6 separate regions of the Homo sapiens genome follow, and all the other regions are linked to region 2. The links are contacts of gene promoters, found by promoter capture Hi-C in blood cells and fetal thymus (Javierre and others, 2016). All regions are on one chromosome and are shown on one strand. Each heading gives the region's core, a stretch centred on a gene start or on the middle of the fragment in contact. The rest is flanking DNA. Distances are from core to core; before and after follow the strand shown.

Region 1 (3,553 bases), core at 292-2,791, 280 kb after region 2:
CCCAGGTGCTCCACATCCAGGAGGGACACAAGACTCTGGAGACAGAAGAGGGCTCTGCACTGAATAGTGTTCATTCTGGAAAGGAAGTGAAACAATGCCATCTGATTCTCCAGAAGTTGCCCATCAGAATTCAGTATTAACTTTTAGCCTAAGCTTCACGTTCTGACTGGAAATATCTGTAAATACAAGGTATCTATGGCAGTTAGCAAAGAATCACAAGGTGAACTGTTTTTTGTGTTTTCTAAAATTTATCATCATTTTTTAGACAGGGTCTTACTCTGTTGCCCAGGCTGGAGTGCAGTGGTGTGATCACAGCTCGCTGTAGCCTCAACCTCCTGAGCACAAGTGATCCTCCTGCCTCAGCCTCCTAAGGAGCAGGATTACATGTGCATGCAACCACACCTGGCTAAGTTTTTTATTTTTTGTAGATAGGGGTCTTGCTATGTTGCCCAGGCTGCTCTGGAACTCTTGGCCTCAAACAATCCTCCTGCCTGTACCTTCCAAAGTGCTAGAATTATAAGGTGAACTGTTAATCTGCCAAATCAAACTGCTTGAATATTCACGGCCTCTGATACACAACTCATTCATGAGTCATGAGGAATATGTTTTAGAAAAATTTCTATGTAGGGTAGCATCCTTAAAATTATAATTTTCTTCAGACAGGGTCTCATTCTGTTTCCCAGGCTGGAGTACAGTGTCACCATCATAGCTCACTACAGCCTTAGACTGCTGAGCTCAAGCAATCCTCCCACTTCAGCCTCCTAAGTAGCTAGGACTACAGCTGAGTGCCACTATGCCAGGCTAATTTTTGTATTTTTTTTTCCTTTGTAGAGATGGGGTCTTGCTATGCTGCCCAGGCTGGTTTCAAACTCCTGGCCTCAAGTGATCCTCCTACCTTGGCCTCCCAGAGTCCTGGGATTATAGGTGTGAGCCACCATGCCCAGCCTAAAATTATTTTTAATTGTGAAATGTGACATATATACAGTTAAGTACACAACATACATAGAGAGTTTAACAAACAGTCTATGAAACCAAAACCCATGCACCTGGGAAAGAAATTAACACTGCTGGACCCTGAAAGCCCCTGTATCTCTTCCATATAATATCCCACCTCCCTGACACCTACAGGTAAGCACCATACAGACTTCTATGGTAAACATTTCCTTGCCTCTTTTTTTTTTTAATAGGTTTATCACCAAGGTATGCATCCCTGAACAAAATAGTTCAATGTTGCCTGTTTCTCAACTTTGTAAAAACTGAATCACAGTGTGTGTATTCTTTTATGTCTCGCTTTTTTGGTTCAACAATGTAAGTTCCATCCGAGTTGTGAGTAGCTCTAATTCAGATCCCTTTTACTGCTGCATGTATTGTACTGCGTGATTTTGTCAAAATTTATTTACCATTCTAACTCTGATGGACAACACGTTTGTTTATGGGTTGGGGCAACTGTGACACACACTGCTATGAACACTCTCATATACATGTATTCTAGGGCATGTGGGCACATATTTTTCTGGTATATATACCCAGGAACAAAACTTCTGGGTCCTAGGGGGAGTCAGCACCTTCTATTTAATAGCCCATCATTTCATAAAATAAAATAATGACAAATGTTTTTGAAAGCAGAAGAGTTCTTACTTTCTAATCAAAGGTTTCCAAGTAGGGTTCCTAGAACATAGGTCAACTGCAATGCTGTTTGGAAAGGCAGTTTTCTCAAAAATCTAGATTTAAAAGAGGCAGTAAAGCAAAGGTTAAAGAGTAGTCATTTAACACGATTCCCTTACATAATTCCAACATATTACTCCTAAGTGAAATGGTTAGGCTTCATATAGAATGACCTTTTCGCCTATTTCCAGTACTGTTAGGCTCAGCTTTGTCTCAGATCTTACCACCATCTACAACCTGGAAGTGTGAGCTTGCTTCTTTTGTACACAAAATGAATACCTTGCTTAAGCCTTTCCCATGCTCCACGGTAAGCCTAGAATGAAAATGGATTACCTTCTTTGGGATGAGGTAGTTGGTGAGAGCCGTGTGAACTTCATGGGAGAGGCAGAGGGGAGAAAACAGCTGTCCCCCGCACTCACTGAAGGAATTCTCCATAAATGCGTCACTTTCATCACTGCTAGAAAGCTCTTCCCATTCGTCATCAGAGGGATCTGGGAAGCGGGCAAACCACGCAGAACTGGAATAGTTAAGAAAATCTCCACGGGAGTTTCCCTCTTGGCTCAGGGGGAAAATGTCTAAATGTAAATGTTAACAAACCTTCATTGCAGCACATGTTGACAATAATTTCCAGAGCAGTCTGTTGGGCTGTCAGCAATGCTATAGTCTCTCTCAGTTCCTTGTCAGTGGGCTTAAAAAAAAAAAAAAAAGTAAATGACCAACTCTCAATGGTTGGGAAAATGTTTTTGGGGAATTTCCTTAGTGAAAGCCTACTAGAAGATTTTTGCGCTTGGAATAGAGCACACGGGGAATGGGGTAGGTAAAAGAAAAGTCATGAAGTGCCAGAAGTACAAACGAGCATTATAATTCCTCTTGGTACAGTGGAGCATGCCCCCGTTAACTGGGTTTCCATCTATCTGCATGGCTATTCCCCAAGCGTCACTTAGTTAGCTGGAGAGAACAGACAAATATTCAGGAATTCTGAACAGAATTCACCCTGAAACTTATCTACTGTGTCAAGAAGTAGCTGGGCATACTAAGATTTAAACAAGAGTTCATTTCAGACACCAGGCACTTAGAAACACCAAACCTGCTTTTAGATGCTTAGCTTAGATGTCTTTCTTGGAATGGCTGCGCTAACACACACTACTAACGAGCCCTTATGTGACCTGTAGAACTTGCTATGGAGCAGACAGACTTGCTTCCTGCCTTTCTGTAAAGACTATAATAAAGCATTTCTCTAAGACTAAAGAAAGAAGGAAGCTTTTTTTTTCTCTGAAAATATATAACGCCAACTTAAACTTAACATTATCAACCAACATTTCTTAAAATGGGTAATATAAATTTATATAACCTTAATTATCAAATTGTCTATGGAAAGTGAAATAACCATACTGATATTCCAAAACAGTACATGAGCTAAAAATAATGTATATTTTACTATTTGAATATTTCCAAACTTCAGTTTTCAATTGTCTTTTTTTTTCCCCCTTAGAGACAGAGTCTCACTCTGTTGCCTAGGCTGGAGTGCAGTGGCACGTTCATAGCTCACTGCAGCCTCAAATTCCTGGACTCAAGCAATCCTCTTGCCGCAGCCTCTGAGTAGCTAGGGCTACAGGTGCATGCCACCATGCCTGGCTAATTTTTTTAATTTTTGTAGAGACAAGGTCTTAGCCAGGCATGGCGGTGCATGCCTGTAATCCCAGCTACTTGGGAGGCCAAGGCAGGAGAATCCCTTGAACCCAGGAGGCAGAGGTTGCAGTGAGCCGAGATTGTACCACTGTGCAACAGAGTGAGACTCCATCTCAAAAAAAAAGAAAAAAAGAAAAAGAAAAAGAAAAAAAATTTACCTGCTTTTTTTTTTTTTTTTGAGAGATGGGGTCTCAGTATA
Region 2 (3,683 bases), core at 256-2,755:
ACCAAGCTTTGCCCTATGCTTAGGGGGCCTAGGGGGCCTAGCTGGCTTGATTTCAGAGCAGCAGAAGGTCTCTTCCCCAACACAACCCCTCTTCCCACACCCTGATCTCTGCCTCACGGACACCAGAGAGGCTTGTTACAGGGAAATAATAGACACACACTTTTAGCTTTCATGAAAAAGCAACTCTCTTCATTAGAAGAACCTCATCTTCCCTGGCTAACCATAGAAGTCTGGCAGGAGCTGCCAATCACAGACTCCACTTCTCTTGGCCAAGGGGGTGAGGGGGTAGATTTGGCATCCAGGCCGAATCAATCTCCCATCCCCTGTCCCATAAAACATGTGACACAAGCCAAGCCAATCAGAGTCCTTCCCTGGGACTGTTTTCCAGGTGAAGCTGACAGGAAGAGATCTTTTTCCCAGTTGGTCAGGACACTATAAAGAAGAGGCCTCAGAAGCAGATGGTGGCCATGTTTCCAGCCATATAGGAAAGAAGGGGGGAGATGGAGACCGATATACAGAGAGACAAGAGAGAGAGCGAGCTGGCATGCCAGTCAACAGCATTACATCCTTGGTTCCTGTCTTCCCTCTGGCAAGCTTTATTCTTGCCCTTTCTAGACATGTAAACCAATAAATCCCTTTTTATTTACTTGAAATAATTCAAATTGGTTTCTATTAGTTGCCAACAATAGGGTCCTAAAATATAAGCCTATAATTTCACCACTGAAGTTCAAGGTAAAGCTACAAATCTTCCTGGGAGAGGTGATTCATGGGTCTAAATTGTTACTAAAGTATAAATGACTGATAACAGATCCTTTCTTAAGAGGAGACTATAATTACGAGCTTATCTGAAAACAGACAAAGCACCATACAGCTAGAAGTAAAGACAGTCAAAACGTCTGGTAACCTTCACCTATCAGCACATAAGTTTTTTTTAAGATTAGAATCTTCAGTCACCAATGTGCTGAGTTTGCTGGGTCTGGCACCCAGTATGGGGTTCAGTCAATATCGTAAAAGGGAAGAAACAGAAGCAAGGGAAAGTGGAAAGAAAGGAAGAGTGGGGGAAGGAGGAAGGGGAAAAAAAGAAAAGAAAAAAAGAGGGAAGGAGACGGGAAGAGGAGAAGGAAGGGTGATGAGGGAGGAAGAAAAGAGAGAAGGAAGGCTTGAAGGGAGGCAGTAAGGAGGGAAGAAAGAAAGGAAGGAAGGAGGAAGGAAGGGAAGAAGGGAAAGAGAAAGAAAGAGAGGGAGGGAGTAAAAAGAAGGGAGGGAAGTGGAGACGGAGGGAGAGACACACAGAGACAGAGACAAGACAGACAAATTGAGGGGAAAGGGAGGAAGGAAGAAAGACGAGAGTCTGAGCGGTGGATCCCGCCCCGGCCCCGCCCTCGGCCCCGCCCCCGGCCCGCGAGCTGCAGCACCACCTCCGGTCGCCAGGGGCCGCCACCCGCAGCCGCCGGCACCCTGTGCGCGCGGCGGGCCTTCTTTCCCGCCTCTGCGCCGGCCGCGCGCCCCCCCCGCCGCCGCTCTCGGGCTCCGGCCGGGTCTCGCGCGCCGTCTTCTCGAGAGGGGCATCGCGCCGCCCGGCGCGCGCCGCCCCCCTGCCTCGCGGCGCGGGGTCTCGCGGGCCCCGCTCCCGCCCTCCGCTCGCCTGGCCCGGACCGGAAGCGGCGCCGCACGGCCTGGGCCTGGCGCGGGGGGCGGGCACCGGGGCCCGGTCGGACATGGGCAAGAAGCACAAGAAGCACAAGTCGGACAAACACCTCTACGAGGGTGAGGAGGGGGCCGGGGTGCGGGCGGCGGGCCCTCGGCGGCTCTGCCGGGCTTCCGCTCTTTCCCAGTGGCTCCGGGGCGGCCCGGGGCCCTTCCTTCCCACGGCAGGCCCAGGCCGGCGAAGGGGGCGCGTCCTGCCGGAGGCCGCGCTGCCCCCCGTGCGGCCGCGGCATTCGAACCCGGGTCCCCCTGGTCCGGTGGGTCTCTGGTGGGGAGACGTGAGGCGGGCCCGGGAGGCCTGGGAGCGTTCGGGGCGGGCGGCGCCGCCGCACCCCCGGGCCGGGGTCCGTCATTCAACAGGTGCTTCGCGGAGCGCCCAAAGCCGCCTCGGGCTTGCTGCGCCTTGGCGCTCTGCATCCTTAGCACTCCCTGGAGAGCCCCGATTTTAATCGACGCGCTTTCCTTTCTTTTCTTTTCTTTTTTTAAGAGTATGTAGAGAAGCCCTTGAAGCTGGTCCTCAAAGTAGGAGGGAACGAAGTCACCGAACTCTCCACGGGCAGCTCGGGGCACGACTCCAGCCTCTTCGAAGACAAAAACGATCATGACAAACACAAGGACAGAAAGCGGAAAAAGAGAAAGAAAGGAGAGAAGCAGATTCCAGGGGAAGAAAAGGGGAGAAAACGGAGAAGAGTTAAGGTACAAGTGGTTACATTGCTTTGGCTTTGCGGACGGCACTGCCTCTTCCAGGTGCCAACCTCATTTTATTTTCTTTGTATCTGGGGAAAACAAACGCCTCTAAGATCTGGCTCGTTTGAGGAGGAGCAGGACAGAATAGAGACATGAATCATCTATGAGTTTCAGCAAGTCGTTTTTGGATTATACTCTTAGGCAATTGTACTCGCACATCAGGTGAGGAAGCAGCTAAGTCCAAATTTTGAGGAGCTGCTTCAAAGAATGGTTTTTCCATCTAGGCAGGGTAAAAAGTCATGCTCAAGAAAGCCTCAGTGTTCAAGGATTGTCAAAAATAGTCATTTCAGAAGCGAGTGGGATCTACTGGGGTTTAAAGTTTGTTCTGAAATAAATATTATAATGCCAAATCTGTAATGAGCAACTTTAAATCTTTTAAAACAGTGTTGTAGTGTGTTGAGAAAATTTGGTCAGAAACCTGTAATGGAGATTGATATTCTTAACCATTTGCATTTAACAGAAAAGAATGAGTAGCTACCATCTTGGTTTGAAAGCTGGGCAAAATAATAATTAATGGCTGGGCCCAGTAGCCCACACTTGTAATCCCAACACTTTGGAATGCCGAGGTGGGAGGATTGCTTGAGGCTGGAAGTTCGAGACCAGCCTGGGCAACATAGCAAGGCCCTGCCTCTGCAAAATAAACTACAAAAATTTCCAGAGCCTGGTGGTGTGCACCTGTGTCCCAGCTATTCAGGAGGCTGAGGTGGGAGGATCCCTTGAGCCCAGGAGTTTGAGGTACAGTGAGGTATGATCATACCACTGCACTCCAGCCTGGGCAATAATACGAGACTCTGTCTCTAATAATAATAACATTGTTATTACTGTTATTAACTTTCCAAATTTAACCTGCCACTGAACGACTTATTACATCAATTATTGTGAAGGTAAATTTTCATAGGTTAGTTATGTAATTTTTCTTATGTTTATATATACAAGAGGAGCTTTCTCTTCCATGTGATTGAACACATTGCTAAGTCACCAAGTCTTAGAGATCTTATTTTGGGGATTTCTTAAGTCTATTCCTTCCCTTTTGTCCCAGTTTTTATTACCTTTGGCTAGGTAGGAGTAATGTTTTGTTTTCTTCCTTAAATTATAAAACCCATATATGCATTTGATTTTTTAAAAGTAGTTCATGTGGTGCAAAAGTACACAAAATGGAAAAAGTTTTCCTCACCCCAATCCTTCACATAGACTCCCTCTTCAGAGGTAACCAGTTGTTTTTTTTAATT
Region 3 (4,035 bases), core at 1,536-4,035, 300 kb before region 2:
AGTTTACCTCACACATTCTAGACAAAACTTAGTCCATTTCCTTGAAGACAGTTCTCTCCAGCTGCTCCAAGGCTTTTCTCTCTGTTCCTTCCACCTTGGAATTGCTTTAAAATATTTCCATCCATTATCCTAATACTATCTTAGTATTCTAGCCCTTCCCCCTTACCATGTAGACCTGACAAAGCAAAACAAAAGCTCACCTATTGCCCTCAAGAACAGCCTCTACACACACACACACACACACACACACACACACACACACACACACGGTGGGAGTTGTATGCCATCCTTTTGAAGGGTGGGAGGACCCTGGACCAGAAAGCAATAATGGCATAAGATTCTGTGATACCAGGCATTTTTGGCAAGGGAAGTTGCCAACAATTTTTCTGGCTGGGATGGCATAGCACATTGTCTAGGGGTGGATTTTCATTCATAAGGCAGCTGTTCCCTGAATGGCTTCCCTGGGTTATGTAGAAACAGCCTGGGGAGGAGGTGATACAACATACTTAATGGGGCCTCTGGGCAGAAAACAGACTGAATCCTCAACACTGCCCCTTTTGAGGGTCTGTGATCCTGGAACTTCTCTGATGGACTGGGATGCCCTTAACTGAGGTCTGCTGTCTGGAAAGGACACCACAGGCCCAGAATGAAGGGGCATCTGGACCAATGACCTAGATTCAACACAGGGCTTGGAGCTGGTGGTACAGGCTGGTTTTGGCCCAATGTGTGTTGGAGGCTGGAAGCCCCTGAAGACCTAAACTGCCTGGATGAGCTTATTAGGGTGAATTAATGAGTCTGTAATTTGGGAACCTTAATGTGAGACACCACTTAAGGAGAGGAACTTGGCCCAGCAAGTGATCACTCTAGAAGTGGACAGCTATGCACTAGACTGCACCAGAATCTGTTCAACAGCGACACCTTGTGGTAAAAACTGTAGACGCCCCATCAGGCTGGATGGGAAACTAGAAACAGACTGTCTCATCTTTGGACAGATATCCCTCAAATCTCCCAATCTACTCCAGGGAAAAGACACTTCAAGTGAGAGATATTGGACTTCTTGAAAATCTAGGCCTATGGAAAATTAAAGTGTTAAATGGAAAAATTAAAGAGCTATGAGTCTATTTGTAATGATGAAACAGATGATATTGATTTTGTCAGTTATTTCTTCAAATCTAAAATGCTATCAACAATATGCAACAAATGTTTACTAACAAAGAAAAAATACCCAACATGGACAGTTTAATGGGATATTCCAGCACAAAAGCTGGAAAAGCAAAGAGTTAGACCCCCGATATGAGGGTTAACACCAAATAAGCCTGTTGTACAGGAGGGGACATTAAGGAAATTTGCACAAACTAAACTTGGCACTGGGTGGAGTACAGGGAACTTCCTCTGAGAATTTGAACTGCAAGCGGGCACTCGCCCATGTTTTAGGGCTGAATACACACAGCATGGTCCAAAATCCCTCAAGCAGAGAAATCATGTTAAAGTGGTCTCAGGTGGAGGTGTTCCAGGTGCCTCAAGACCTGGAGATCTTTAGGTCTTCCCTGGGGCTGAAGGATGTCAGCATCAAGCCAGGCCTATAAGAAGTGTAGGATCCTGTTGAGTTCAGAGGTGCTGAAATGTGAAAAAAAAAAGTCATCTCAAAATCACAGATAGATGATATGTGTGGGGTGTTGGGGGGGTGGGGCGGGGGGTGCACACAGAGAGAAAATACTTATATGGGAGTAAAGGAGCCTATAGAATCACATGGGGGGTTCCCCATAAGTACCTCTGAAGAGGGGTTGGCTTCCCACACAGTGCACAGGAAATGGATTTATTCAGGCTTCCCAAAAAGGGACTGGCCACATGGGGCAGCTTCAGGACCATCACTTTGCCTTTTCCCGATGACACTCAATGCTGCCCCTCCTCGTGCTTCTGGCAGCCTTGGCCTGAGCATCCACGGGAGTTTCTTCTGGCCATGGACACTGCATCTTCATCCACTACAAGTTGTCTGATGGACTGGGATGGCCTGCCACAGCCAGCTCCTCCTGGCATCTCCCATATGCTGCAGCAGTTAGAGCCCACTCGTTCCTTGGGTTCCTGGAACAAGTCCTTGAATTCCTTAGGCCCCCACCTCCAGCAAGCTTTCCGCAGGGCCCACTGCAGCCCCACCGGGGTACCCCACCTCCCTGTTTGCCTGGGCCCTCTCCCACGCCACCTGTATTAGTCCTTGTTTCTAGGGGACTTTAGAGTGGTGGCAGCTGGGACTGAACATTCTTCTCCTGACCCCTCAAAAGCTGGGTCCACAGGAGAGGTGAGGGGGTACCTGACCTCCATACCCAGGATGGAGCCTTGTTAGGAACACAGAATTTCAGGCCCCACCCTAGACCTGCTTAATCGGAGTCTGCACTTTAACAAGAGCATCCCCCACTGCCGCAGGTGACTCTTACCTGCATACCTCAAAGGTTGAGAAGCCCAGTGTTGAACTGACTTGAAGGCACCTCAATGAAAATCATCCATGGAACTGGGCCATCTGTGGTCCTGGGTTCATCCCCATCCTTCTCTTCTCTCCACCCGGGCCCTCTACCATACAGGTGCCTCATCCCAGGGGACTGCAGATGGGACTACCATGCCAGCCTCACAACCATACCTGCAAAACCACTCTGGGCATTTGGACTGGAGCTTAAAGGGGTTCATTCCAATGAAGCCCTCCCTGCTGCAGCAGCCACTCCCCCCCACTGGCTGTGATGGAGTCCTGGGGTCTCCACTTTGAGCTGGGATTAGGCATCCTCATGAGACCCTGTCCCCTGGGATGCCGGCAGTTCCCTGCCAAGCCCACAATTGAAAACAAGCTCTGCAAGCAGCTCCCTGTGCGGTAAAAGTCAGGGCTCCCCAGGCCTACTGTGTGACCAGGCACTGCCGGGCCATTGATAGCACCGTCACTCCAGCTCTGCTTGGGACATGTTCCTATCCCATTTTTCAGTTGAGGAAAATGTGATCATTTGTAACATTGTAACCTGAGGGGGTTAAGTGACTTGCCCAGGGTTACACAGCTAATAACTGGACCAGGAAATTAAGACCAGGCTTTAATTTGACCCAAGCCCTACTTTCCTTGCTGAACTCCACATTAAAGGATGTGGAGGAGAGGGGAAGGGATATGTTCCTGGTCCCCTCACCGAAATGGGTCCTTGATATGGTTTGGATGCATGGTGGTCACCTCCAAATCTCATGCTGAATGTGACTCCCAGTGTTGAAGGTGTGGCCTGGTGGGAGATGTTTGGCTCATGGGGGCAGGTCCCTCATGGATGGCTTGGTGCCCTCCCCGTGGTAATGAATGAGTTCTCACTCTGTTAGTTTACATGAGAGCTGGTTGTTTAGAAGAGCCTGACATGGCTCTTGCTCCCTCTCTTGCCATGTAAGTCACGAACTCCCCCTTCCCCTTCCACCATAAGTGGAAGCTTCCTGAAGCTTCACAAGAAGCAATGCTGGTGCCATGCTTCTGTACAACCTGCACAACTGTGAGCCAAATAACCCTCTTTTCTTTATAAGCTACCCAACCTCAGGTATTCCTTTATAGCAATGCAAAATGGACTGACACGCCTTTAAAGATCATTTCACTCACCTCTGTTTACAGATGGGGAAATCAAGGCCTGGAGAGATGACTTATCCAGGGTCACGTGGCGAGACAGGGACAGCACCAGAACCAGACCCGAGATGTCCACGTCAAAGTGACATGCTCTGAGAGGCAGCACACACAGAATAACCCTGCATCCAAATTCCAGGAAGCTCTTAGGGGTCATCCAGCTGGGCCTAGGGGTGCAGGGTCAGTGCTGAGGCCTGGGCAGGGCCGCTAGCCTCCCTGAGCTTTCTGGCTTCAGGCTGGGAGGCACAGTTCAGGGTGGACTGTGACCCCTTGGCCTAGAATGCCCTTAGCTCTGCTCTCTAGTGGCTGTCCCCATAGCTGGAACTCTGTTTTGGAGTGGCAAAACCAGTTCCACCTGCTGGTAGGGGTAGGTTGGCTCCCAACACATCCCCAGCAGGCCTCTCTTGGGC
Region 4 (3,612 bases), core at 441-2,940, 260 kb after region 2:
TAGAGAGCGCTAGAAATGCCACACAGATCTCATCACTTAAAAAAGAGTTTCTGGCCAGGCACGGTGGCTCATGCCTGTAATCCCAGCACTTTGGGAGGCCAGGGCAGGCGGATCACTTGAGGTCAGGAATTTGAGACCAGCCTGGCCAACACGGTGAAACCCGTCTCTACTGAAAAAAAAAAACAAACCAAAAAACCAAAAACAAAAACAAGGTGTGGTGGTGGGTGCCTGTAATTCCAGCTACTCAGGAGGCTGAGGCATGAGAATCGCTTGAACCTGGAATGGCAGAGGTTGCAGTAAGCCAAGATCGCAGCACTGTAATACAGCCTGGGCAGCAGTGAGACTCCATCTCAAAAAAGAAAAAAACAACAAAACAAAACAAACAAACAAAACACACACACAAAAAAACCAGCAACAGAGTTTCTGACAGGTTTTGAAGTTTTTTTTTTTTTTTTTTTTTGGAGACAGGGTCTCCCTCTGTCACCCAGGCTGGAGTGCAGTAGCGTGATCTCAGCTCACTGCAACCTCTGTCTCCCAGGTTCAACCGACTCTCCTCCCTCAGCCTCCCGAGTAGCTGGGATCACAGGCATGTGCCACCATGCTTATGCATGCGGTTTCACCATGTTGGCCAGGCTGGCCTCAAACTCCTGACCTCAAGTGATCCACCCGCCTCGGTCTCCCAAGGTGCTGGGATTATAGGCGTGAGCCACCATGCCTGGCCAGGTTTTGAAGTTTTTACAGAATGTACAGAATGTAATCATTAAAAAATGACTTTCAGAAACATATACATTCAAAGAAAACCTTTTAGTATTCTAAGCATTGAATACTTTGGGGGAAGAACTGGTTTCTTTTTTGGATTGTTTAAGAAGTCAGTCTTTTCTCAACAGTTTCTTGATAAGCAATAAATCTTCGCAAATTCATTTTCACATTGTCAAGAACACACAGCTGATCTGTGCTATAGTTACCTCTCCCTTCTTTACGTATCTGCAAACAAAAAACAAAAAATCATATATGACTTGGTAGATATGATTAATTCATTTAAATAAAGTATTTAATTTAGGGTGTATTTAACCATTTGCTGAAGCAGATAGCTGTAAGAATTTGGAAAAAATGTTTTTACTTCCAAGGTAAATGGAACTCGGTAAGTAAAGAATAAACTGAGAATGTGCATTATTAAAAATGATAGTTACAAAGGTGACTGAATGGCAGGTGGTAGGAGTTATATAAACTATAGAAAGGAATTATGTAAACCATGAATTGGGAAAATAACCCCTAACCTCTGAAAGGTCTGCTGTTCAGATTGATTTTCCTAGTTAGTATGCATTGCTATGGTAATAATACTTAATTGTTTTTCTTCTCTCAAAGGTATAAAGCCTTAATGAAATTCCTTTGTTAGGCTGGGTGCATACTCATGCCTGTAATCCCAGCAGTTTGGGAGGCCGAGGCAGGAGGTTTGCTTGAGTCCAGGAGTTCAAGACTAGCCTGGGCAACACAGTGAGACCCCACCTTAAAAAAAAAATTCCTTTGTTAGCCAGAGGTTAGTCTGTAGTGTTGTGGTTTTTTTGTTTTTGGAACAGGGTCTCTCTCTGTCGCCCAGGCCAGAGAGCCGTGCTGCAGTCATGGGTCACTGCAGCCTCGACCTCCCGGACGCAAGTGATCCTCCTGCCTCTGCCACCACAGTAGCTAGGACTACAAGCAGCGCACTACCATGCTGGAGTAATTTTTTTAAATTTTTAGTAGAGGTGGGGTCTCACTATGTTGCCCAGGCTGGTCTTGAACTCGTGGGCTCAAGTGATCCTACCACCTTGGCCTTCCATAGTGCTGGGATTACTGGTGTGAGCCACCATGCCCAGCGCTGGTTTTGTTTGTTTGCTTGTTTTTTGTTTTTAATAGAGATGGGTCTTGCTTCATCGCCTAGGCTGGAGTGCAGTGCTGCAATCCACTGAGCTCACTGTAGCCTCCAACTCCTGCACTCACACGATCCTCCTGCTCAGCTTCCTGAGTAGCTGGGATGACAGGCATGAGCCACCACTTAATGGCTAACTTAAAAAAATTTTTTTGTAGAGACAAGTTCTTGCTATGTTTCCCAGGCTGGTCTTGAAATCCTGGACTCGAGTGATCCTCCCACCTGGGGCTCCCAAAGTGCTGGGATTACAGGTGTGAGCCACTGCGCCTGGCCTGTGGTTTTTTATATCAATTGTATGGAATCTGAGTTTGATCTCACCTCTAGTCTAGAGCAGTGGCTCTCAGGTTTTAGTGTGCAACGGTATCATCTGGAAGGCTTGTTGAAAAATAGACTGGTGGGCCCATCCACAGAGTCTATGACTCAGTAGGTCAGGAGTTGGGGCCGAGGACCTGCATTTTGAATAAGTTATCAGGCAAGGGCTGATGCTGCTGATACAAGGAGGGCACTTTTGAGAAACACTGCTCAAGAGAAGTTCTTGATTGTACATAAATGCATTTTGCAGCTAAATATACACTGAATAGCCTTTAACACAAATTGTGGCTTCATTTAGCAAAAAAAAGAGTTTCACATAAATAACTACAGGCTAGCCTCTGGCTAGGAAGAAATCTCATTAGAGCTTTATACCTTTGATAAAAGAAAAACAAATGTTATTACCACAGCAATACATACTGAGTAGGAAAATCAATCAGAACAAAGACCTTTCAGAAGTCAGGGGTTATTTTCCCAGTTCACTGTTTAACCTTTTTTAAGCACCTGCTTCTGCAGAGTTTGATGACTCTAACTATTAATATATCTGCTTTCCTTGAAGCTGCAGGGAAATAGGGGATATTTTTTTCTTATCTTGCAAGCTCTTTATCCAGAAATTTAAAGGACTGTAACCTTTAAGAACAATATGGCTGGGCACAGTGGCTCACACCTGTAATCCCAGCACTTTGGGAGGCCAAGGTGGGCAGATCACCTGAGGTTGGGAGTTCGAGACCAGCCTGGATGACAAGGCGAATCCCCGTTTCTACTAAAAATACAAAAATTATTTGGGTGATGTGGTGGACACCTGTAATCCCAGCTACTTGGGAGGCTGAGGCACAAGAATCACTTGAACTGGGGAAGGGGAGGTCGCAGTGAGCCAAGATCGCACCACTGCACTCCAGCATGGGCGACAGAGTGAGATTCTGTCTCAAAAAAACAAAAAAAAGTAAAATTAAATAAATGCAAAATGTGTATGAAAGTGCTTTGCAAAATACAGAGTATAATACTGACATATATGAAGCATTGTCAAAATTACTAAACTTAAAAAAAGAAGAACTTGTCAGATACCATTTTAGCTTCAGTTTCAATGATTCAGTAGTCACACTGTTGAGCTATGACTCAGTCAACGAACATTTTACAAAGTACTGGGGATGCTGTGCTACATATGGGGATTCGTCATGCACATGCTTCTGAGTTGCACAGCGGTAACTACACACACCCTTGTCCCCACAGAATGTTCAGACTTATGTATTTATAAGTTAAATGGCTACAAACCTTCATTTTAAAGACCGGCTGGAATTCTTTCAGAGCAGATAATAATTTAATTTGAATCGAGGCTCTTTCGGCTTCTTTACCATCTGCAAAAACATCAAAGAGGGCATCCAAAGCTTCTCCTGCTA
Region 5 (3,529 bases), core at 775-3,274, 320 kb after region 2:
GGTCACTTGAGGTCAGGAGTTCCAGACCAGCCTGGCCAGCATGGTGAAACCCCATCTCTACTAAAAATATATTTTAAAAAATTAGCCGGGTGTGGTGGTGGGCACCTGTAATTCCAGCTACTTGGGAGGCTGAGGCAGGAGGATCGCTTGAACCTGGGAGGCAGAGGTTGCAGTGAGCCAAGATCGAGCCATTTCACTCCAGCCTGGGCAACAAGAATGAAACCCTGTCTCAAAAAATTAATTAATTAATTAAATTAAAAATTATCATTTTCCAGGTAAACTCACTTAATATTGCAGTTTCTTTTCTTTGCTCCCAGGTGGGCAGCATTTCCTTTCTATTTGTAGTTTCTTGTTTCCTTTGCTCAGCAATCAATGACCCCACTCTCCGTCTAGGAACTTCTAGTCTCTGCTGAAGAGCTAGTACATTCCCATGTAGTTTTTAAAAAAATTGATACATAATAATTGTGCATATTTATGGGGTACATGTGATACTTTGATACATATAATCCGTACAATGTAATAATCAAATCGGGGTAATTAGCATATCCATCACCTCAAACATTCATCATTTCTTTGTGTTGGGAATATTTGAAATCTCTTCTAGCAATTTTTATTTGTTTTGTTTTAAATTTTGATTTTTTATATTGACAAGAAATAATTGTGTATATTCATGGGGTACATAGGGATGTTTCAATACATATAATGTATAGTGCTCAGAGCATGGTAATTAGCATGTTCATCATCTCAAACATTTATTATTTCTTTGCATTGGGAACGTTCAATATTCTCCTTGTAGCTATTTTGAAATGTACGATAAATTGTTGTTAATTACAGTTACCCTATTGTGATACTGGACACTAGAGCTTGTTTTTTCTATCTGACTATGTGTTTGCACCCATTAACCAAGCTCCCTCCCCTACTTCCTTCCAGCCCCTGGTAACCATCATTCTACTCTCCACTTCCATGAGAGCAACTTTTTTAGCTTCCACATGTGAATGAGAACATGCAATATTTGTCTTTGTGTGCCTGGCTTATCTCACTTAAAATAATGACCTCCAATTCCATCCACGTTGCTGTGATAGGATTTTATTCTTTTTTGTGGCTGAATAGTATTCCACTGTGTATATATACCACATTTTCTTTATCCACTCATTGGTTGATGAATACTTAGGTTGATTCTGTAACTTGGCTATTGTGAATAGTCCTGCAATAAACATGGCTGGAGCAGGTATACCTTTGATATGCTGATTTCCTTTCCTTTGGATAAATACACAGTGGTGAAATTGCTGGATTATACAGTAGTTCTATTTTCAGTTTTTTGAGGAAACTTCATGCTGTTTTCCATAATGGCTGTACTAATTTACATTCCCACCAAAATTATATAAGAGTTCCCTTTTCTCCACATCCTTGCCAGCATTTGTTATTTATTTATTTATTTATTGTCTTTTTGATAATAGCCATTCTAACTGGAGTGAGATGATAGTTCATTGTGGTTTTGATTTACATTTATCTGATGATTAGTGCTGTTAAGCATATTTGCATATACCTGTTGGCTATTTGTGTGTCTTCTTTTGAGATGTGCCTATTCATGTGGTCTTTACCCCTCCTTTTTTTTTTTTTTGAGATGGAGTCTCACTCTGTCACCCAGGCTGGAGTGCAGTGGCATGATCTTGGCTCACTGCAACCTCCACCTCCCAGGTTCAAGCAATTCTCCTGCCTCAGCCTCCAGAGTAGCTGGGACTAAAGGCACATGCCACCACGCCTGGCTAATTTTTTTGTGTTTTTAATAGAGATGGGGTTTCACCATGTTGGCCATGCTGGACTCAATCTCCTGACCTTGTGATCTGCCTGCCTCAGTCTCCCAAAGTGCTGGGATTACAGGTGTGAGCCACCACACCCAGCCTTTGCCACTTTTTAATGGGATTATTTGTTTTTTTGCTGTTGAGTTGCTTGAGTTCCTTGTATATTCTGGATATTAGTCCCTTGTATATTCTGGATATTAGTCCCTTGTTGGATGAATGGTTTGGAAATAATTTCTCATATTTTACAGGTTGTCTCTTTACTCTGTTGATTGTTTCCTTTTCTTCTTAGTTTAATATAGCCTCTTTTGTCTGTTTTTGTTTTTGTTGCCTGTGCTTTTGAAGTCTTAGGCATAAAATCTTTGCCTAGACCAATGTCCTGAAGCATTTTCCCTATGCTTTTTCTAGTAGTTTTATAGTTTCAGGTCTTGCATTTAAGCCTTTAATTCATTTTTAGTTGATTTTTTGTACGTGGTGAGAGAGGGGTCTAGATTCATTCTTCTGCATAGGGATATCTAGATTTCCCAGCACCGTTTATTGAGAGTGTCCTTTCACCAGTGTATGTTGTTGTCACCTTTGTCAAAAATCAGTTGGCTGTTTGTGGCGGAATTCACACAGAAAAAAAAATCAGTTGGCTGTAAATATGTGGATTTACTTCTGAATTCTCTATTCTGTTCAGTTGGTCTGTGTGTCTGTTTTTATGCCAATATCATGCTGTTTCGTTTATTATGGCCTCGTAGAATCTTTTGAAGTCAGATAGATGCCTCCAAACTTTGTTCTTTGTATATTGCTTTAGCTGCTTGCATTCCCATCTGGTTTTAATTATGTCAAGGCAAGCCCTGATTCCTCTAAAGGTTACTCTATTTTTGTACTTGTTTTATTTATTTTTAACTGATCAATGGGCTAATATCACTTCAGTTTTTAAATAAGTAACTATTAATATTAGTGATTATGTATTTTTGTTTTTGCATTATCTTCCATGCTACATCAAAATCAGGATTTATCAAATTTTCAGGTAACAATGGAGGTAAGAAATTTTTATTTATTTTTTCTTTTTAATTAATATTTTTGAGACAGGGTCTGACTCTGTTGCCCAGGCTGGAGTGCAAGGCATGATCTCAGCTCACTGCAGCTTCCACCTGCCAGACAGAAACCATTCTTCCACCTCAGCCCTCCTGAGTAGCTGGAACTACAGGTGGGCACCACCATGCCTGGCTAATTTTTGCATTTTTGGTAGAGACAGGGTGTTGCCATGTTGCTCAGGCTGGTCTCGAACTCCTGGGCTCAAGTGATCCTCCCAACTTGGCCTCCCAAAGTGCTGAGATTACAGGCGTGAACCACCACACCCAGCCTGGAAGTAAGGATTTTTTAAAAGTAACTGATGGAGTGACCGGGCGTGGTGGCTCATACCTGTAATCCCAGCACTTTGAGAGGCCAAGGTGGGTGGATCATTTGAGGTCAGGAGTTTGAGACTAGCCTGACCAACAAGGTGAAACTCCATCTCTACTAAAAATACAAAAAAATTAGCCGGGTGTGGTATTGAGCGCCTGTAATCCTAGCTACTTAGGAGGCTGAGGCAGGCGAGTCACTTGATGCCAGGAGGCAGAGGTTGCAGTGAGCTGAGATCCTGCCACTGCACTCCAGCCTGGGCAACAGAGTAAGACTCTATCTAAAAAAAAAAAAAAAAAAAAAAAAAGTAACAGATGGCTTGTTTTACGTATCTCAAATAA
Region 6 (3,645 bases), core at 143-2,642, 320 kb before region 2:
ATAAGATACCACTTTACACTCACAAAGGTGCCCTTAGTCCAAAGGACAGAAAACAAGTGCTGGAAATAATGTGGAGAAACTGGAAGCCTCATACATTGGTGGTTAGAGCGTAAAGTGGTGAAGCCACTGTGGAAAATAGTTTGTGGGTTCTTCATAAAGTTAAACATGGTGTTACCATATGATCCAGCAATTCTACTCCTAGGTATACTCAACAGAATTGAAGCATATATGCACACAAATGCTTGTACACAAATGTTCATAGCAACATTATTCATAAGAGGAAAAAGTGGAAGCAAACTAAATGTCCCTCAGCTGATGAATGGATAAAGAAAATGTGATCTATCTGTGCAATGGAATATTATTCAGCTGTGAAAAAAACAAAGTACTGATAAATGCTACAACATAAATGAACCTTGAAAACATTATGCTAAGTGAAAGAAGCCAGTCACAAAATGACATCTATTGTGTAAGTCCGTTTACATGCAATGTCCGGAATAGGCAAACCCATGAAGACAGAAAGTAGATTTGTTGGTTGCCAGGAACTGAGAGGAGGGAGGAATGAGGAGTGACTGCTAGTGGGCATGAGGTTTGGTTTTTGTTTTGTTTTGTTTTGTTTTGTTTTTGCATGATGAAAATATTCCGGAATTAGATCATGGTGATGGTTACACAACCTTGTGAATGGACTAAAAACCAGTGAATTACACACCTTAAAAGGGTGAGTTTTATGGTATGTGAATTATATCTCAATGAAAAACAGTTGGGCTGCCAAATGCTTTGTGTAGAAAGAATATAAGGCTAAATTTAAAGAGTAGGTTGTTTTTTAACAAGGATGCCAAGATAATTCAAAGGGGAAAAATGATCTCTTTAACACATGGTGCTGGGAAAACTAGATATCCACGTGCAAAAGAAATGAATTTGGACTACTACCTCATACTTTATACAAAAATTCTGTAATAGATATGTGTGAATATATGCATTGAAACATCTAAAAGACAAGTTAGGATCGGATTTTAACTGGACTTTTAAAATTCTTCTGTGTTAACCTGTATTTCCTAATAAGCATAATTTACTTGTTTAATAATAATTTTTTAAAACTTTCCAATGAGTTAAGGGATATTGATTAAAAACTCCCTGTGTGCAGGGCCCTCTGCCGAGACAGGCAATTGGGATGCCCTGGAGACATTTCTGTCCTTGAGTGCTCTGACATGGGCACCGTGCAGGAAGTGCTCAGAAGAGGCGGAGGGAAAATGCTTCCAGAATCCCCCGGGCCTCAGAGGAGAGAAATCCTTGGATTGTGTCATTCAAAATTCTTCCAGGCCGGGAAGCTGCCTGTGCCTGAGCACTTCCCCCAGGAGCGAGGACTGCCCCCATCAGCAGGCCTGGATAGTAGGAGCTCAGCCCAGGACCGACGGCGGCTGCTGCTGCTGACAGTGGTGGTAACCCGGCCTCATAGTGGGCTGCAGTCTCCACGCTGGTGGTCCTCTGCTCCAAGCAGCCCGCCCACTCACCAAAGTCCAAACACTTCCACAAGCTGGCCCAAATGGATGAAGACAGGAATGGCTTTCCCTCCCCACATCTCTGCACCCCTAGCTTCACCAACTTCCCGCAGCTCTCAGTACTCCCACCTGTGAGCTTCTGCTCACTCTGTGCCCCAGGCAGAGGCAACAGGTGGCAACTGCAAGGACTCTGGCCCCAGCGAACTTGGATTTGAATTCCAGCCCTGCTCCTTAGCGGCTGTATGCTCTTGGCCAGTCATTTCATTTCTCTTGACCTCAGTCTCCCTCACAGTTAAGTGAGGATGACAGTCCACTTAGATCTTGTCATGAGGGATGCATACACTAGGACTCGGTGCCTGGTAAACAGTGAGCACACCACAGTGTGAATATGTTATTGAACACTTGCCATATGCCACGCCGTGTACTCTCACAACACCTCTATGGAATAGGTTCCATTCCTCATCCCCATCTTTGACAGGAAGAAACGGAGGTTTCAAGAGGATCATGAATTTCCTAAGATGACCCAGCTATGGAATGGTGGGACTATGAGTCAAGTCCACGTCCTTCTCTACCTGCTTTTATCTGGACCTTCCATGCCCACCTCCTGCAAGGAAGCTCTCCAGACCCCACAGTCCCTGTGGGCTCTCCCAGTCCTCTCAGCTGCAAAGATCAGCCTGCCTGTTCTCCTGTTGGCCATCAGCCGAGACGGTCCAACACTGTTGGCCCAAGTTCCATGTGTCCGTCCTGTGTATCACCAGTCTCTGAGGGTTCAAGGTATCCCTTCCTTGTCCCTTCCTTGTTGCTGGACCTCAGCCTCTGGCCCAGTGCTTGGCCAAGTCTGTTTTCAGAGTGACTTTTTTTTTTTTTCCGAGGTGGAGTCTCACTCTGTTGCCTAGGCTGGAGTGCAGTGGCGCCATCTCAGCTCACTGCAACCTCCGCCCCCTGGGCTCAAGCGATTGTCCTGTCTCAGCCTCCCAGGTAGCTGGGACTACAGGCATATGCCATCATGCCCAGCTAATTTTTGTATTTTTAGTAGAGACAAGGTTTCAGCATGTTAGCCAGGTTGGTCTCAAACCCTTGACCTCAGGTGATCTGCCTGCCTTAGCCTCCCAGGCTAGGATTACAGGCGTAAGCCACTGCGCCCTATCCATGGGTGACTTACTGACAGAGGGACAATGCTTGAAAGAAGGACACATTGGAGCAGGCAGCTCTCCACAGAGCAGCCTCCAGCCTGGGAACCTGACGTGCCTGCATCTCTTGGGCAGCCTCTGAGGTTGCCCCATTCCTACCTCAAGACCAGACCCAGCATTCTGTCACTTCCCCACCTCAGGTCCTAACCCAATTCCAAGCTCATCAGTACATTGGGCAGGAAGATCAGACACCTGAAAACACAATCCAGCTCCCCTGCCTAAGCCTCCTCCTGAGACCCCGTGCTGTGCCTCCTCTCTCTCCTTCCCTTCCGCCTTATTGTTTCTAGAATCACCCCTCTGTTCTCAAACCCTGCCATTCTAGCCCCAAGCTTACAAACCCCACTTCAGCAAAATAAAATGTTCCATTGGCTGAGGGTGTTGTCTTTGAAAATCAGTTTCTCACTCCTCCATTATTAATTAACTCACAGAAGACCATATCATTCTTCTTTTCCAATGTGTGGACACAAGTGCCAACTTCATCTGCATGGTCAGAAGTGCCGGGTTGGAACAGAAGAGCCAGGGCTGGATTTTTAGCATTACTGCTGCCTTTTTTTTTTTTTTTTGAGGTAGAGTCTCACTCTGTCGCCCAGGCTGGAGTGCAGTGGTATGATCTCAGCTCACTGCAACCTCTACCTCCTGGGTTCAAGCAATTCTCCTGTCTCAGCCTCCTGAGCAGCTGGGACTACAGGCATGCATCATCATGCCCAGCTAATTTTTGCATTTTTAGTAGAGACCGGGTTTCACCATGTTGGCCAGGATGGTCTCGATCACCTGACCTCGTGATCCGCCACCGTGCCCGGCCCACTGCTGCCCTTTTTTAGGTCCTCTGTGCAAGGCACATACCTTAAAATGATTTACAATGGACCTGATGGCCCTTAACCCCACCCAAACTGCTCATCAGCACCTTTGCCCAAACAGATGTCCCAAGAATGGGAGGTGTATGTTCTCCTGATCAGAAA

What was found. Contacts are between HindIII fragments. The CHiCAGO score rates a contact against its expected background, and 5 or more counts as called.
Region 1: a contact is called between a fragment that was not itself captured here and the fragment with the promoter of BRD7 in region 2, in 16 of 17 cell types (naive CD8 T cells, total CD8 T cells, neutrophils and 13 more). The highest score is 32.7, in naive CD8 T cells.
Region 3: a fragment that was not itself captured here is called in contact with the fragment with the promoter of BRD7 in region 2 in 17 of 17 cell types (total CD4 T cells, naive CD8 T cells, total CD8 T cells and 14 more); the score reaches 36.5 in total CD4 T cells.
Region 4: a fragment that was not itself captured here is called in contact with the fragment with the promoter of BRD7 in region 2 in 14 of 17 cell types (naive CD8 T cells, total CD8 T cells, total CD4 T cells and 11 more); the score reaches 23.7 in naive CD8 T cells.
Region 5: a fragment that was not itself captured here is called in contact with the fragment with the promoter of BRD7 in region 2 in 14 of 17 cell types (neutrophils, naive CD8 T cells, total CD8 T cells and 11 more); the score reaches 31.9 in neutrophils.
Region 6: a fragment that was not itself captured here is called in contact with the fragment with the promoter of BRD7 in region 2 in 16 of 17 cell types (total CD4 T cells, naive CD8 T cells, naive CD4 T cells and 13 more); the score reaches 35.4 in total CD4 T cells.

Annotation. Positions count from the first base shown.
Region 1 is chr16:50,082,737-50,086,289 of GRCh38, reverse strand. It overlaps HEATR3 (HEAT repeat containing 3), which reads right to left. Exons shown (of 15, transcript NM_182922.4): 8 at 2,263-2,353; 9 at 1,999-2,156; 10 at 1,639-1,721; 11 at 1-75. Among named protein-coding and RNA genes, the nearest start is that of HEATR3-AS1, 18 kb to the right of the region's middle. The HindIII fragment of the contact is 2,772 bases long and covers 156-2,927 here.
Region 2 is chr16:50,366,810-50,370,492 of GRCh38, reverse strand. BRD7 (bromodomain containing 7) reads left to right here and starts at 1,505. Exons shown (of 17, transcript NM_013263.5): 1 at 1,505-1,767; 2 at 2,195-2,403. The coding sequence starts at 1,719. RefSeq lists silencers at 1,327-1,576, 1,607-2,116. The HindIII fragment of the contact is 8,339 bases long and covers 597-3,683 here.
Region 3 is chr16:50,668,730-50,672,764 of GRCh38, reverse strand. It overlaps LOC101927272 (a long non-coding RNA gene), which reads right to left and starts at 3,910. Exons shown (of 3, transcript NR_110908.1): 1 at 3,605-3,910; 2 at 1,772-2,082; 3 at 1,126-1,617. It overlaps SNX20 (sorting nexin 20), which reads left to right. Exons shown (of 4, transcript NM_182854.4): 4 at 1-1,136. The HindIII fragment of the contact is 1,314 bases long and covers 2,129-3,442 here.
Region 4 is chr16:50,102,311-50,105,922 of GRCh38, reverse strand. HEATR3 (HEAT repeat containing 3) reads right to left here. Exons shown (of 15, transcript NM_182922.4): 14 at 3,488-3,612; 15 at 1-984. The coding sequence ends at 862. Among named protein-coding and RNA genes, the nearest start is that of HEATR3-AS1, 38 kb to the right of the region's middle. The HindIII fragment of the contact is 3,825 bases long and covers 1-3,602 here.
Region 5 is chr16:50,050,080-50,053,608 of GRCh38, reverse strand. All of the region lies in intron 2 of HEATR3-AS1 (HEATR3 antisense RNA 1), which reads left to right. Among named protein-coding and RNA genes, the nearest start is that of HEATR3, 14 kb to the left of the region's middle. The HindIII fragment of the contact is 9,594 bases long and covers 1-3,529 here.
Region 6 is chr16:50,685,985-50,689,629 of GRCh38, reverse strand. No RefSeq gene overlaps it. Among named protein-coding and RNA genes, the nearest start is that of NOD2, 5.8 kb to the left of the region's middle. The HindIII fragment of the contact is 3,251 bases long and covers 1-3,017 here.